2 separate regions of the Homo sapiens genome follow, and region 1 is linked to region 2. Evidence: promoter capture Hi-C in 16 types of primary human blood cells and fetal thymus (Javierre and others, 2016). All regions are on one chromosome and are shown on one strand. Each heading gives the region's core, a stretch centred on a gene start or on the middle of the fragment in contact. The rest is flanking DNA. Distances are from core to core; before and after follow the strand shown.

Region 1 (5,404 bases), core at 547-3,046, 990 kb before region 2:
CTCTGCTAGGAGATTAGTGGAAAATAAGCTCTGTAAATTAAATTTTATTGCAAAATTATCTTCCGATGTTCAGCAGTAAAGATAGTATTGAGTGATAAGGCTGGAGTGGATTTTGTATAAAGCAATTATAGCATGAAGACCACAATCTGAATGAAAAATATTGCTGAAGATTTCCTATAGTCTGTAGAAATGTCATTTTGGAATGTGTTTAAAATTGCCTCATTTTATGCAGGTGATTATAATACTTAAGGTATATTGCAGTTTGAAAACAGCATTACTGAATAATTTTAAGGACCATTTATATATGGTGGGAGGAACAAATTATATATATATATTCACACTTGGACAATTGTTATCATTTCAAAACATTTCTCCACTACTGGAGATTTTTCTGTAAAGCTTGCTTTCTCCAGTGAGCCCATCTTTCTCTTTAGATAACTGCATATGAAAGGTGGGATCAAAATGCCCACTGTGTATTTTACTCTCACCCTGGCATGTGTAAAGGAGGACTTCTTCTCCAGGGCTCCACCATGTAGATGAAGAAGCACCTGGTGTTTTAATAACTTTATTTACACCTCAACTCTTGAATTTAACCTTTACATAGCAATTAGAAACAGATAAGAACAAAGATATTGTTCTTGAATGAGGTAGAAAAGGCGTGGTTTGAAAGGGCTTCCTACAAGTAAAATTGAAGAAGAAAATACGCATGCACGTGTGTCTGTAGCCACCCACCCCTCAACTCCTGTTCATGTGTGTTTCCTGGACTTGCATTCTTCATTCCCCCAAAATCAAGGCACATTTAGTGAATGTCTAGTCTGAGCAAGTCAGTGTCTCTAAGTACCAGAATGGTGGAGACAGAGAAATCACAGTGTATGGCAGTGTCAGGACTGGGCTTCATCCCAAGGAAGTGAAAATCCAGTAGTATTTACAGTAGAAATTATTAAAAGAATCTGTTTCCTAATGGGCAGAGGATCCTGTCGTCCTTTAATTTTTTTAAAAAAAAGTCATGCCCTTTAATAAATAATCATGTAAAAGGGAAAAACCTCTGATTTTAGAAGTTACTTTTTATTTCTTTACAGGGAGCTGGGAAAAGACAGCTTATTGATTCAGTGTGCATAAATACTTATCATAGACTTACTGTGTAGCCATTACTTTAGGCAATTCATCCAGCTAAATAGCCTCTAATGCTATCATGAATGAAGACTATAGAGGTTTATCAAGATGAAAATAGCCCATTAAGAATTGATCTGAACCAGTTTAGAGAAGCAGAGCCTGAGACCTGGCCTGTGCAGCTTTGGCTAGTAAAAGTTCACTTGGTGCTGGGCATATACCAGCTCCACAGGCCCCAACTTTATTAGTGTGGAGATAAGCTGATTAGGTCCTGTCAATCAAAGGTGCCCATATCTCAATTGAGAGACACACACTCTCTCTCGATTTTTCTTTAAGCATTGAAGCAGGCAACAAAGAAAGAGATGTGTGGTATGCATCCCTACGGTTGTCACCATGCAGGGTGCAAGGGTCCTGTGATGATGTGGTGACTGTATTAAAGAGTACATCAATTTGTTTTAAAGTGTTTTGATTTTTTATGGTGGCATTAAGAGAGAGAACATTGTGGTTGCAGCTTTACTAGAAAGCAAAGAGTTCTAGAAGAAGAAAAAAAAAGTGTTTCTTTGAAGCCTACCAGGGCTTTGAATCTTGCTGTGCCAATGGGCGCTTAAGTGCTCCCGTAACTGGCAACCTCAGATCCACCATCAGCTTAGGAACTACCATCCTCTCCAAATAATTCATTTAAAGGAATAGGAAAAAAATGTGTAAATTGACCTAAGCAATATTAATGATGATTGACTGCAAGTTTTTCTTTCTTTAAGTGATTTCAGATTTTGGATGAACATATAACACATGTTGGTTATACTGATGTGCACTGATTCCGTTGTAAAGAGCAGAGATACTTCTAAATTTTGCCCAAGTACAGATTGGCAACATTGCTCCATTTAATTGTTTCATACATAATAATGAATGCTTTACTTTGTATATCTGGAAAATAAACCTGACTAATAAATATAGGCTGTCAAAGTATAATTCTGTAGGGCTTCAGCTTGAGACCTCATCATCTCGTCAGTATTGAGAAAAAGGTAGAGCGATGGTGTAGGGGGAAAACCTGGCCTTTTGTTCTTTACATCTGAAGTTTGCTCACTGCAGGCCTCCTTCCCACTTCAAATGCAACAACAGAAAGGAGGCCTTCCTCTTCTTCCCTCACCCTACATGCACCCCCCAGTGCTGCCATCCCGCACAGCCACGTTTCCACAGTGGATTATCTCTTTATCAGCTATTCTTCCCTTCACTCCATCCATTTTCCACTAACCAATCAGGCAGCCCTCTTAGGAAAGACTGGTGCTTACTTCAATAAAATGTTAATTCTGTACACACAGAGCCACACAGCCATTCTAGATGTTGCTTGTAACAGAAAAGCATTCATGTACCCCAGACATGGAGAATACCTGTATTGGGTGTCTTATGAGAAAAAATTGGGGGAAATAAAGTTATGATGGGTAGTAGTTACTGAAATGGAAAAGGTATTCTATTCTTTATAGTGCTGACCAGCCAGAGTGGCCACACACGTGTGTGGGGATGTACCCATGGTTACCTAAAAACATGCATCCTGCTTTTAAGGCATCTGAGATAGTAAAAGCTAGTTTGTCACTTGTAGTTCTAACTGACCCAGACAGGAGTAATTGCAGTGCTGACTCTGGTCCATTGAGTGTATGATCTTGAAAGGCCTTCTGACTCTAGAAAGATTAGGGTGAGCGATGTTTAGTAATGGGTGTACTTTAACATATAAAGATTTTCTATTCAGGATTCTCTGCTTTGAGAGTTTTTATTACTGGATTATCTTAATAGTGATAGGTCTTTAGAGTACTTACTAGGGTTTTTTTAAATAAGAAAAAATGTAGTATGCAACTTTCCAGAAATACCTTTTTTTAAAAGTGTTGATGCATTCGCATGTGAAAGGAACTTGGCTAAGCTCCTTCTCATGGTTTAGGTTTCTAGTTTAATGTTATGTCTTCAAAGAAGACTACCCTGACCACTCTTTCTAAAGCAGGCTTCCCCTGAATCTTACCAAGCCCCTTCCTCATAACATTAATTGTAAGGAGTAATCCATTACTCATTTTTTGTTTGCCTTCTCCACAAGAATGTAAGCTTCCTGAGAGGCATTTTGTTGAATGATTGAAGGAAATGGGCAGCTATATTCCTTTACTGCAAATAGAAGTGCTTTTTTTTTTTTTTTTTTGCGATGGAGTCTCACTCTGTCGCCAGTCTGGAGTGCAGTGGCATGATCTCGGCTCACTGCAACTTCTGCCTCCCGGGTTCAAGTGATTCTCCTGCCTCAGCCTCCCGAGTAGCTGGGACTACAGGCGCGCACCATCACGCCCAGCTAATTTTTGTATTTTTAGTAGAGACGAGGTTTCACCATGTTGGCCAGGATGGTCTCTATCTCTTGACCTCAAGTGATCCACCCACCTCGGCCTCCCAGAGTGCTGGGATTACAGGCGTGAGCCACCGCGCCTGGCCAGAAGTGCTTATTTCAAAAAGTTTCTCACTAACCTTTAGCATTATAATAATTATAGCCATTTCCCATCCCAGACCACTTTTAAGAAGATTTCGTGTGGTTTTATGACATTTTAGAATTAATCTTTGTCTCTTATTGTATTGAAATTCTTAATACATTCAAGTGGTTCTCTCAAAAAAAATATTTTTTTAAAAAAAGAATATTGTGTTTCATTTGGCAAAGTTATAATTAAGAAAAGTATACTCTACTCAAGTCAGTTTACCCTGCAAACTAGTGTATACTCATTAATAAGCATTTGGTGGTAAAGATTTTAAGCCAATAATGAATCTAGGTTCCCTTTTTCATTTGCTGCATGCTTTAGTTATTGAGCTTTGTTTCTTTTCCACTGTTTACCCATTCCAATTTCATAAGTTTACTTTGGTAATTGTTTTTAGGCTACAAAATTAATAGTGAAAATTAGGTTGCAGTGTGATCATGTTGCTTTATCAATCATTGGAATATAATGTTTGTTTCGCTGAAATTTTGTAACAAGAAGTAGGCAGAAATGGTTGGACTAGGGACATTTACTTGTAGTGTCTTTGTGTAAATCTCAGTTTTCCATTTTATTATATGATAAGTAAAATCTCTTTGGTTGCCTACAAGGATATAACAAATACTTAAATTCATCAACATGAAGCTGTAAGCATCATCAGTTCATAACAATGATTTCTGAAAACTGGTTACTTTTTATTTAAATTTGGAAGTTTAACTCAAATGGAAAAAGATATTTTAACATGGTTTTCTGATCACTGATAACTGAAAAATTCTAGAATAATATAGGAACTCATACAACAAAATAGATCATGCTTACAGTCAGCACTTGAAAAAAACATTCTGGAAAAAAGTCTTTAAAGAGACTTTAGGGAGACTCTAGAAATATATGGAAGAATATTGCAAACTAAAGGCTGTTGTATTCTCTTTCCCTCTCAGAAATAGTTTTTTATAAATAAAGAAATACTTTTCTGAGTTGCTTTTATCATCAACATTTCACTCCCCCAAAATTAAAAAATCTATCATCGAACTCTTTTACCAGAATTTACCAATTCCACCTGAAGTTCTTAGCCCCTGAGATACAACTTTTTTTTATTTCATAAAAGCCAAAGGAGTGTTCTGAGTCATTTGATGAACTTTCCTTCAGAAAAAATAAAATAAAATAATGGCAAATGCCTATTTTTCTGCTTCTCAAATGCCCTTTCCAGTACTTGTCATATATTCCTGAGTTACAGCTGGTTTATCAGGAGCAAACAGGCAGACATAACTTACGACACTGCAGGTTTAAAGTATCATCGTCCAGAAACAATGATGTTTTATTATTTAGAAACAGTCTATATTTTTTCATATTCTTCCTTTAAGCCTTAATGTTTGTTCGAGAATTAAAGGGCCACACTCTTCTGTTTTCTCTGTGTTTACCTTGCAGTTCTGCTTGGCAAATGTTTATTTCTGAAAGTAAGTATGAAATGTCAGTATATTTAGGATAATTAAGTCAATATTACTCCAGTTTGCTTTGCTTTTAGAGTGCTATATTTTCCTAAGTAATAAATACCAGGTAACTTCCAGAAATGGAAGGATTTAGAAAGTAATATTATGTTTGTGTGTGTGTGTGTGTATATACACACACATATATAACTATATAAAATAGATTTTCTTTTATAACAACATCTGAGTGTCTCTTGATTTAGATAGTTTTATCATGGCAATCGCATGTTGTGGGGAGTTCTTTTGTACCATTAATAATAACTAAAACACAATCATCTTCCTAAAGGAGAGAAAGAGAGAGAAGAGGGAAAAGGTGGAATT
Region 2 (5,591 bases), core at 1,447-3,946:
CAAAAGTGTTCCCTTTTTGTTTGAAATAAAGAGAAGATTACATGTCAGGGAAATTAATCTCATTACAAAGATGAACAGCAAACTCACCAGGTCACTTCCTGTTGACACAGGAAGAAAAGCTTCTGGCTTGTTTTCTGGGAATCTCTCCACAAAGTCAGAAGGTCAGTAATTCATGCGAGGCAGTGGAGGGGAAAAGAGACGCCTGAGTCACATGAGTGATTTCATGGTTTGACTTGTCTGAACATTTCCGTTTTTGTTTTTTACCGTCTGTACAAACACTGTGAAGACTCCAGCAAAGTCCTCATGTGTGCTGCCTCCTTGGCCCTTGCTCTGGGATCAAGTAACCACCAACAAAATCCTCAGCACTGCACCGATGTCCTGTTTAGCCACCATGTCACCGTGGCCACCATGTCATGGTAACCACCTCCCATCGTCCCGCCCATGAGGATTGCTATTCCATCGCCTTGTTTCACTCTTTTTCATAGAAACCACTAACGAAAATTAACTGTTTACTTTTTCACTGTCTGCCCATCTCCTCCTCAACCAGTTCACATCTGCCTCCTTCATCCCCACATCACCAATGCCTGGCTCACAGCAGAGCTTCTGTAAGTATTTGATGAATATTAATGGAGTGTTCATGAATAAGTTGAAGTGTGCTTAAAATTTCACAAATACTTTTAGTTTTCCACATCCAGTTTTTCCTTTCACATTGAGTTGGCTATGCTATCTAAGGCATCCTGGTGATAACATGTCCAACTGTCACATGGATAAAGTGGTCATTCATTTGTTCATTTCATCCAACATAAACTTATTGAGCGTCTATCCAGTGCTGGGCATCTATGCCAAGGATTCAATGGTGATTGAAACAGAGTGCCTGCTCTCCTGAGTTTTCAGTCTAATGGGGACAATGGGAAACAAATATTAATGAAATAGCAATACGGCTGTGACATTACAACCTCATAAATGCTGTAAAGAAGAAATGCATGCAGGGCTTCTGAGGAAGTAATGTTTGGGCTAAGAGATGAAAGATGCATTAACTAGGAGAGTTAACTAAATTAACTTGCTCAGGAGTGAGCAGGGTTCCAGTTAACAAATTTATGGTTGTCATAAGGATTAGGGGAAGGACAGAGTAGGGCTAGAGAAGAACTTTCTAGGAAAAGGGACTACAGCCAGGCGCAGTGGCTTATGCCTATAATCCTAGCACTTTGGGAGCCTGAGGCGGGTGGATCACCTGAGGTCAGGAGTTTGAGACCAGCCTGGCCAAGATGGCGAAATGCCGTCTCTACTAAAAATACAAAAATTAGCCAGCCATGGTGGCATACACCTGTATTCCCAGCTATTCAGGAGGCTGAGGCAGGAGAATCACTTGAATCCAGGAGGCAGAGGTTGCAGTGAGCCAAGATCACGCCACTGCACTTCAGCCTGGATGACAGAGTGAGACTCTGTCTCAAAATAATAATAATAATAATAATAAAAAGAAAAAGGGACTACTAACATGGGCTTGTATTATGGTGATCAGGTGGATGTTGATGGTATAGGAGGCGGGGTGGGGGGAGTTGATGGCTGCCTAAAATAGGATGGAGACAAAAATATGTGGATAAAAGAAAATAATGTGGAAGTCATTTAGGAGGTAAAATGGCAGGACCAGGACTTGGCTAGTCCTTCAAGGCTCATCTGGTGACTGGGGCATTCTTTTGGGCTGGGATCTGTGGGGCCCTCCCCGGCTAGCAACTTGGCTTTCAGAAGTAGATGCAGCCACTGATGCAGTCCACGTGCCAAACAGGGATGGCAGGTAGGGGCAGGGCTGGGCAGGGGGGCACAGGTGAGCACATGCCTCCGCTGGCAGCAGCATTTCAAAACCTGGATTTATGACTCAAGTCAGGAGGATTCCTGGAACCCAGGCATAGATTTCTGTGGGCAGTCAGTTGTTTACAGGAGATTAAGATCATGCCTATTAAAGAGATCAATTGTGTCCACAAGAACCCACACTTAATAGGTAATTGCTGCTTGACAGAACTCTACCTGCAACCAGCATAGCTAAATAAGGAACATAGGAAACAATTGTCCTGAAATATGAACACCATGTTTTTTTTCCTCCGCTTGATCAAAGAAAGACTCCAGCAAAAGGGGAAAAAATAATTAAAAAGTAAAAGTCTTACCTAATGAGGTTTAAAACAAAACTTTTGAAGCCAACAAGCAACTGTGGGCAACACTTCAAAGGGCCCAGAATCAATGTTTGTCAATAGCAGTTTTGCATCCTTTAATTTATGTCTCATGAATATAAAGTGTGATGTTATTAGGAGCCCATCCATGCCTTAATTCTGTTTGAGATTTGATGAACCAGAAGTCTATTAACATTCTGTACAAATCAGCACTGGCAGAGGCCTGTGGCACAGGCTTCACCTGATCTTTTATCCTGAGGCTGGGATGCTAGTCACGCTGTCAGGCTTCCTGCTCGGAACACCCAGCAGCTGTCATGTGCACCGTGGAGCCAGGGGGCTATGTCAGCTACTTTCTTTGGAGAGTTTCTCCCCAGAAGAGAAACCACTTCATGACTCAGCCCAGCCCCAAAGTTGCCATTTGTTTAATCAAGATAGTTAGTTTGCAAAACATTAAACATTAAACAGTATTTGATGCCTAGTTAATAATTTGCATCCTCTTCATTTGTTCCTGAATCCTTGGAGACTGACATTTTTCCCCCCTAAAGGCATAGACAACAAAAGAAATTTTATTGAGAGGAAAACACAAGTCCTTAAACTGCAAAGATGTTTGCCAGGATGTCTGATCTCCATGTTCTGCTGTTAATGGCTCTGGTGGGAAAGACAGCCTGTGGGGTAAGTGTTCTTTTCTAATATTTGTAGTTGAGAGACTCCGAAGTTTACTAGGAGGACCAAGCTAGGCTGGGAGTGATGAGAAACTTTAGAGTGAAAGGCTGGAGTTGCCAAGTTGGAGATGTTCTAACTACAAGAACCAATGCAGGCCTGTGGCTTGGTTTCTTTTGAGCAGCCACTCCCATGGGAACAGGTGTCTGACTTGAGCCATCTTGGAGCGGAGCCTCCATGAATGCATTCCAGCAAAGGAGACTGGGGCAAGAAAATGTGCCCCAGGGCATGGATTGTAATCTGTCATGGATCTCATAGACCCCTTTGAGAAGCCATGGAAAGCTATAAACTCTCTCCCCAGGAAAATATACCTATCTATTGGTGCTGACACACACAGTTTTCCAGCGATTTGTGGCTGACACTAGGGTAAGAAGCAATGTGCTATGGCCTTAGAGGGGAAGCCTGCTGACTGCAAAAGATCCTGGCAGTGGGTCTGCATAAATAGTTTGGATTTGGGGAGAAGCTTTGTGTTTAGTACTTTGTCTCCTTTTCCCTGTGACAGCAGCAGATGAGGCAGAGAAGGTGAGCAGGGGCCCAAGGGAGGTTGCAGTGCGCAGGGAAGGGAAGTCCCATCAGAGAGTCTTGAACGGGGGACTCAGGACCTTCCGGAGCAGATGACTTGTCAAGATGTTAGTTCCTTCTGTGTGCCATGGTCCAAGAGTGTCAGATGGATCTCTGTGGGCATGGAAAGAGGACCTTGCACAGAAATAGAGTCTCCTTGGAGTTCCGTGCTGGTTGTGGTCTGAGGCATGAATGTGGGCTTTGGAGCCAGGGTTCGAATCTCAGCTTTGCCACATTCTAGCTGTGGAATGTTGGGCAAGGAACATAATCTCTCTGAGCCTCAGTGTTGTCTTCTGCAAATCAAGTGCTAACCTCTCATAGATTTGGGGAGGGCCACAAGTAAACGAGGTCATGTATGTGGCTTGCAAATAAATGTGAGCTCTACTCCCTTAAAATGTCAAGAATGAACACAACTTCTCCATAAAAATCAGAGAATGCTCCGCCTTGTTCGGGAGGGGTGGTAGAAAGTGGGCAGAGGATAAGAACTAAAATAACAGTCATAACCTCTCTGTCTTATTAAGTACCTTTGCATTTTGTTCCCCATTTCACTCCATAGAGCGTTTCCTGAATGAAGCAGATTAAGTTACAGTTTTCTGATTAGCATGTTTTTAAAACAATAGCTTCTCCTTTCTTTTCCGTCAACTGTGCTCAGACACCTATCTTAGCTCTGTATTAAGTTGCCAAGTGACTCACTTCTGAAAGGGTTTTCTTTTCAAATCATGACTTGTGTGTGTGTGGTGGTTGTAATTACAAATTGTTGTCAAGCCCCTACATCATTTGATGGCTTGTTGGTGTCTGAGGCCGAGACACAGCAGAAATACCACAGGTCTAGAGAAAGGCAGGAGAAATCATCGGAGGCCCACGCGGGGCCCAGAGAACATACCAGTCGGAAAGAATTAGATCCTAAACTTTGCGGGCAAGGAGAAACGTTGACACGGTATGTTTGAAGTTCACAAAAGGATAATGGTCCCGAAAAATCCCTTTTTTGCAAACCCCATTGAATTTTTAGGGTTAGCAATGAAATTATAAGTCAATAATGGATAAAAGAGAAAATATGAGAGTTAGCCTTCAGGCAATGAGCTTAGTCAATTCCAAAGAGAGGATTCGGGGCTTTGGAATGCTTTCTTACCCCAGATGTGTGCCAGACAGGTGGTCGGGAAGGCGGCTTGTGTTCCACAGGCTGGCATACAGACATCAGGGGAAAGTGGCCAAGTCGTTCAGATGCTTTGGAGAGTTTGGGGCGTCATGGGGGTAAAGAAGCCACATAGCCAGCTGGGCTGGGTGGCCTCTCCAGCCCCACACAGCTAAAAGTCATAACTAACTGCTACCATTTAATGAGAAGTCCTGAGTGCTAGCCCCTGAACTTTCCATGAATTGGTTCATCTCTGGAAGGACCCCAAGAAGTAATTCCTACTATGCTCCCATTTTACAGAAACGAAGCTGGAAAACTGGGCCTGTCCCAAGTCATACAGCTGATGAGTGGCAGAGCTGAGCTCTGGATTACAGACTGGTTTCCGTGTAGCCAGTCTCCTGTCTGGGGCCCTGGGTGAGGATGAGATTTCTTTGGTTCGTACAGCTTCAGGGACATGGCTTTTCCTGTAGGGAAAGGCCTCTTAGACCAGGCACATGTTTGCTGGGTGGAGTGTAATGGACTCCACGTGTCTCTGAAACTCCAAAGAAAGGCAGCTATAGGATCTGTGGTCACTATTCATTGGAAAGACACCCAGGTACTCTCCCATGAATTCAGATCATGTAGCAAATGAGGACTGTTCTTTGGGATCATCTGTCATGGAGATTTTTATTCTGATATCCACTAGCCCAAGAGATATGGGTCAAAAATCATTGCTGTGAACTCCAGGGCATCATTCATTGTGCCTTGCTGTTCTACTCGAGGTTTGGTTTTCCTAACATATCATTTTTGAGCACCTGTCCAGCACAACCTCATATCATTATCCCTGTTTTATGGATGAGATACAAACCCAGAGATGTTAAAATGACTTTCTGGCCAGGATTGGGGCCAGGTCTGTCTGACTCCACATTCATCACAGGAGGCCTGCTTAACTGTAAATAAGGCGTGGACTGTCTTAGAAATCTCTTCTTGCTAGGATTCTTAGAGTGATTTGGGGCCCAGCTGGGCTCAGCCATAAT

Evidence for each region. The method cuts DNA at HindIII sites, captures the fragments that hold promoters and counts their contacts. A CHiCAGO score of 5 or more calls a contact.
Region 1: a fragment that was not itself captured here is called in contact with the fragment with the promoter of HABP2 in region 2 in 2 of 17 cell types (M1 macrophages and M2 macrophages); the score reaches 5.9 in M1 macrophages.

What each region holds. Positions count from the first base shown.
Region 1 is chr10:112,557,327-112,562,730 of GRCh38, forward strand. The region is part of intron 5 of VTI1A (vesicle transport through interaction with t-SNAREs 1A); the gene reads left to right. Among named protein-coding and RNA genes, the nearest start is that of MIR4295, 74 kb to the right of the region's middle. The HindIII fragment of the contact is 2,799 bases long and covers 398-3,196 here.
Region 2 is chr10:113,550,357-113,555,947 of GRCh38, forward strand. It overlaps HABP2 (hyaluronan binding protein 2), which reads left to right and starts at 2,697. Exons shown (of 13, transcript NM_004132.5): 1 at 2,697-2,834. The coding sequence starts at 2,766. The HindIII fragment of the contact is 3,226 bases long and covers 118-3,343 here.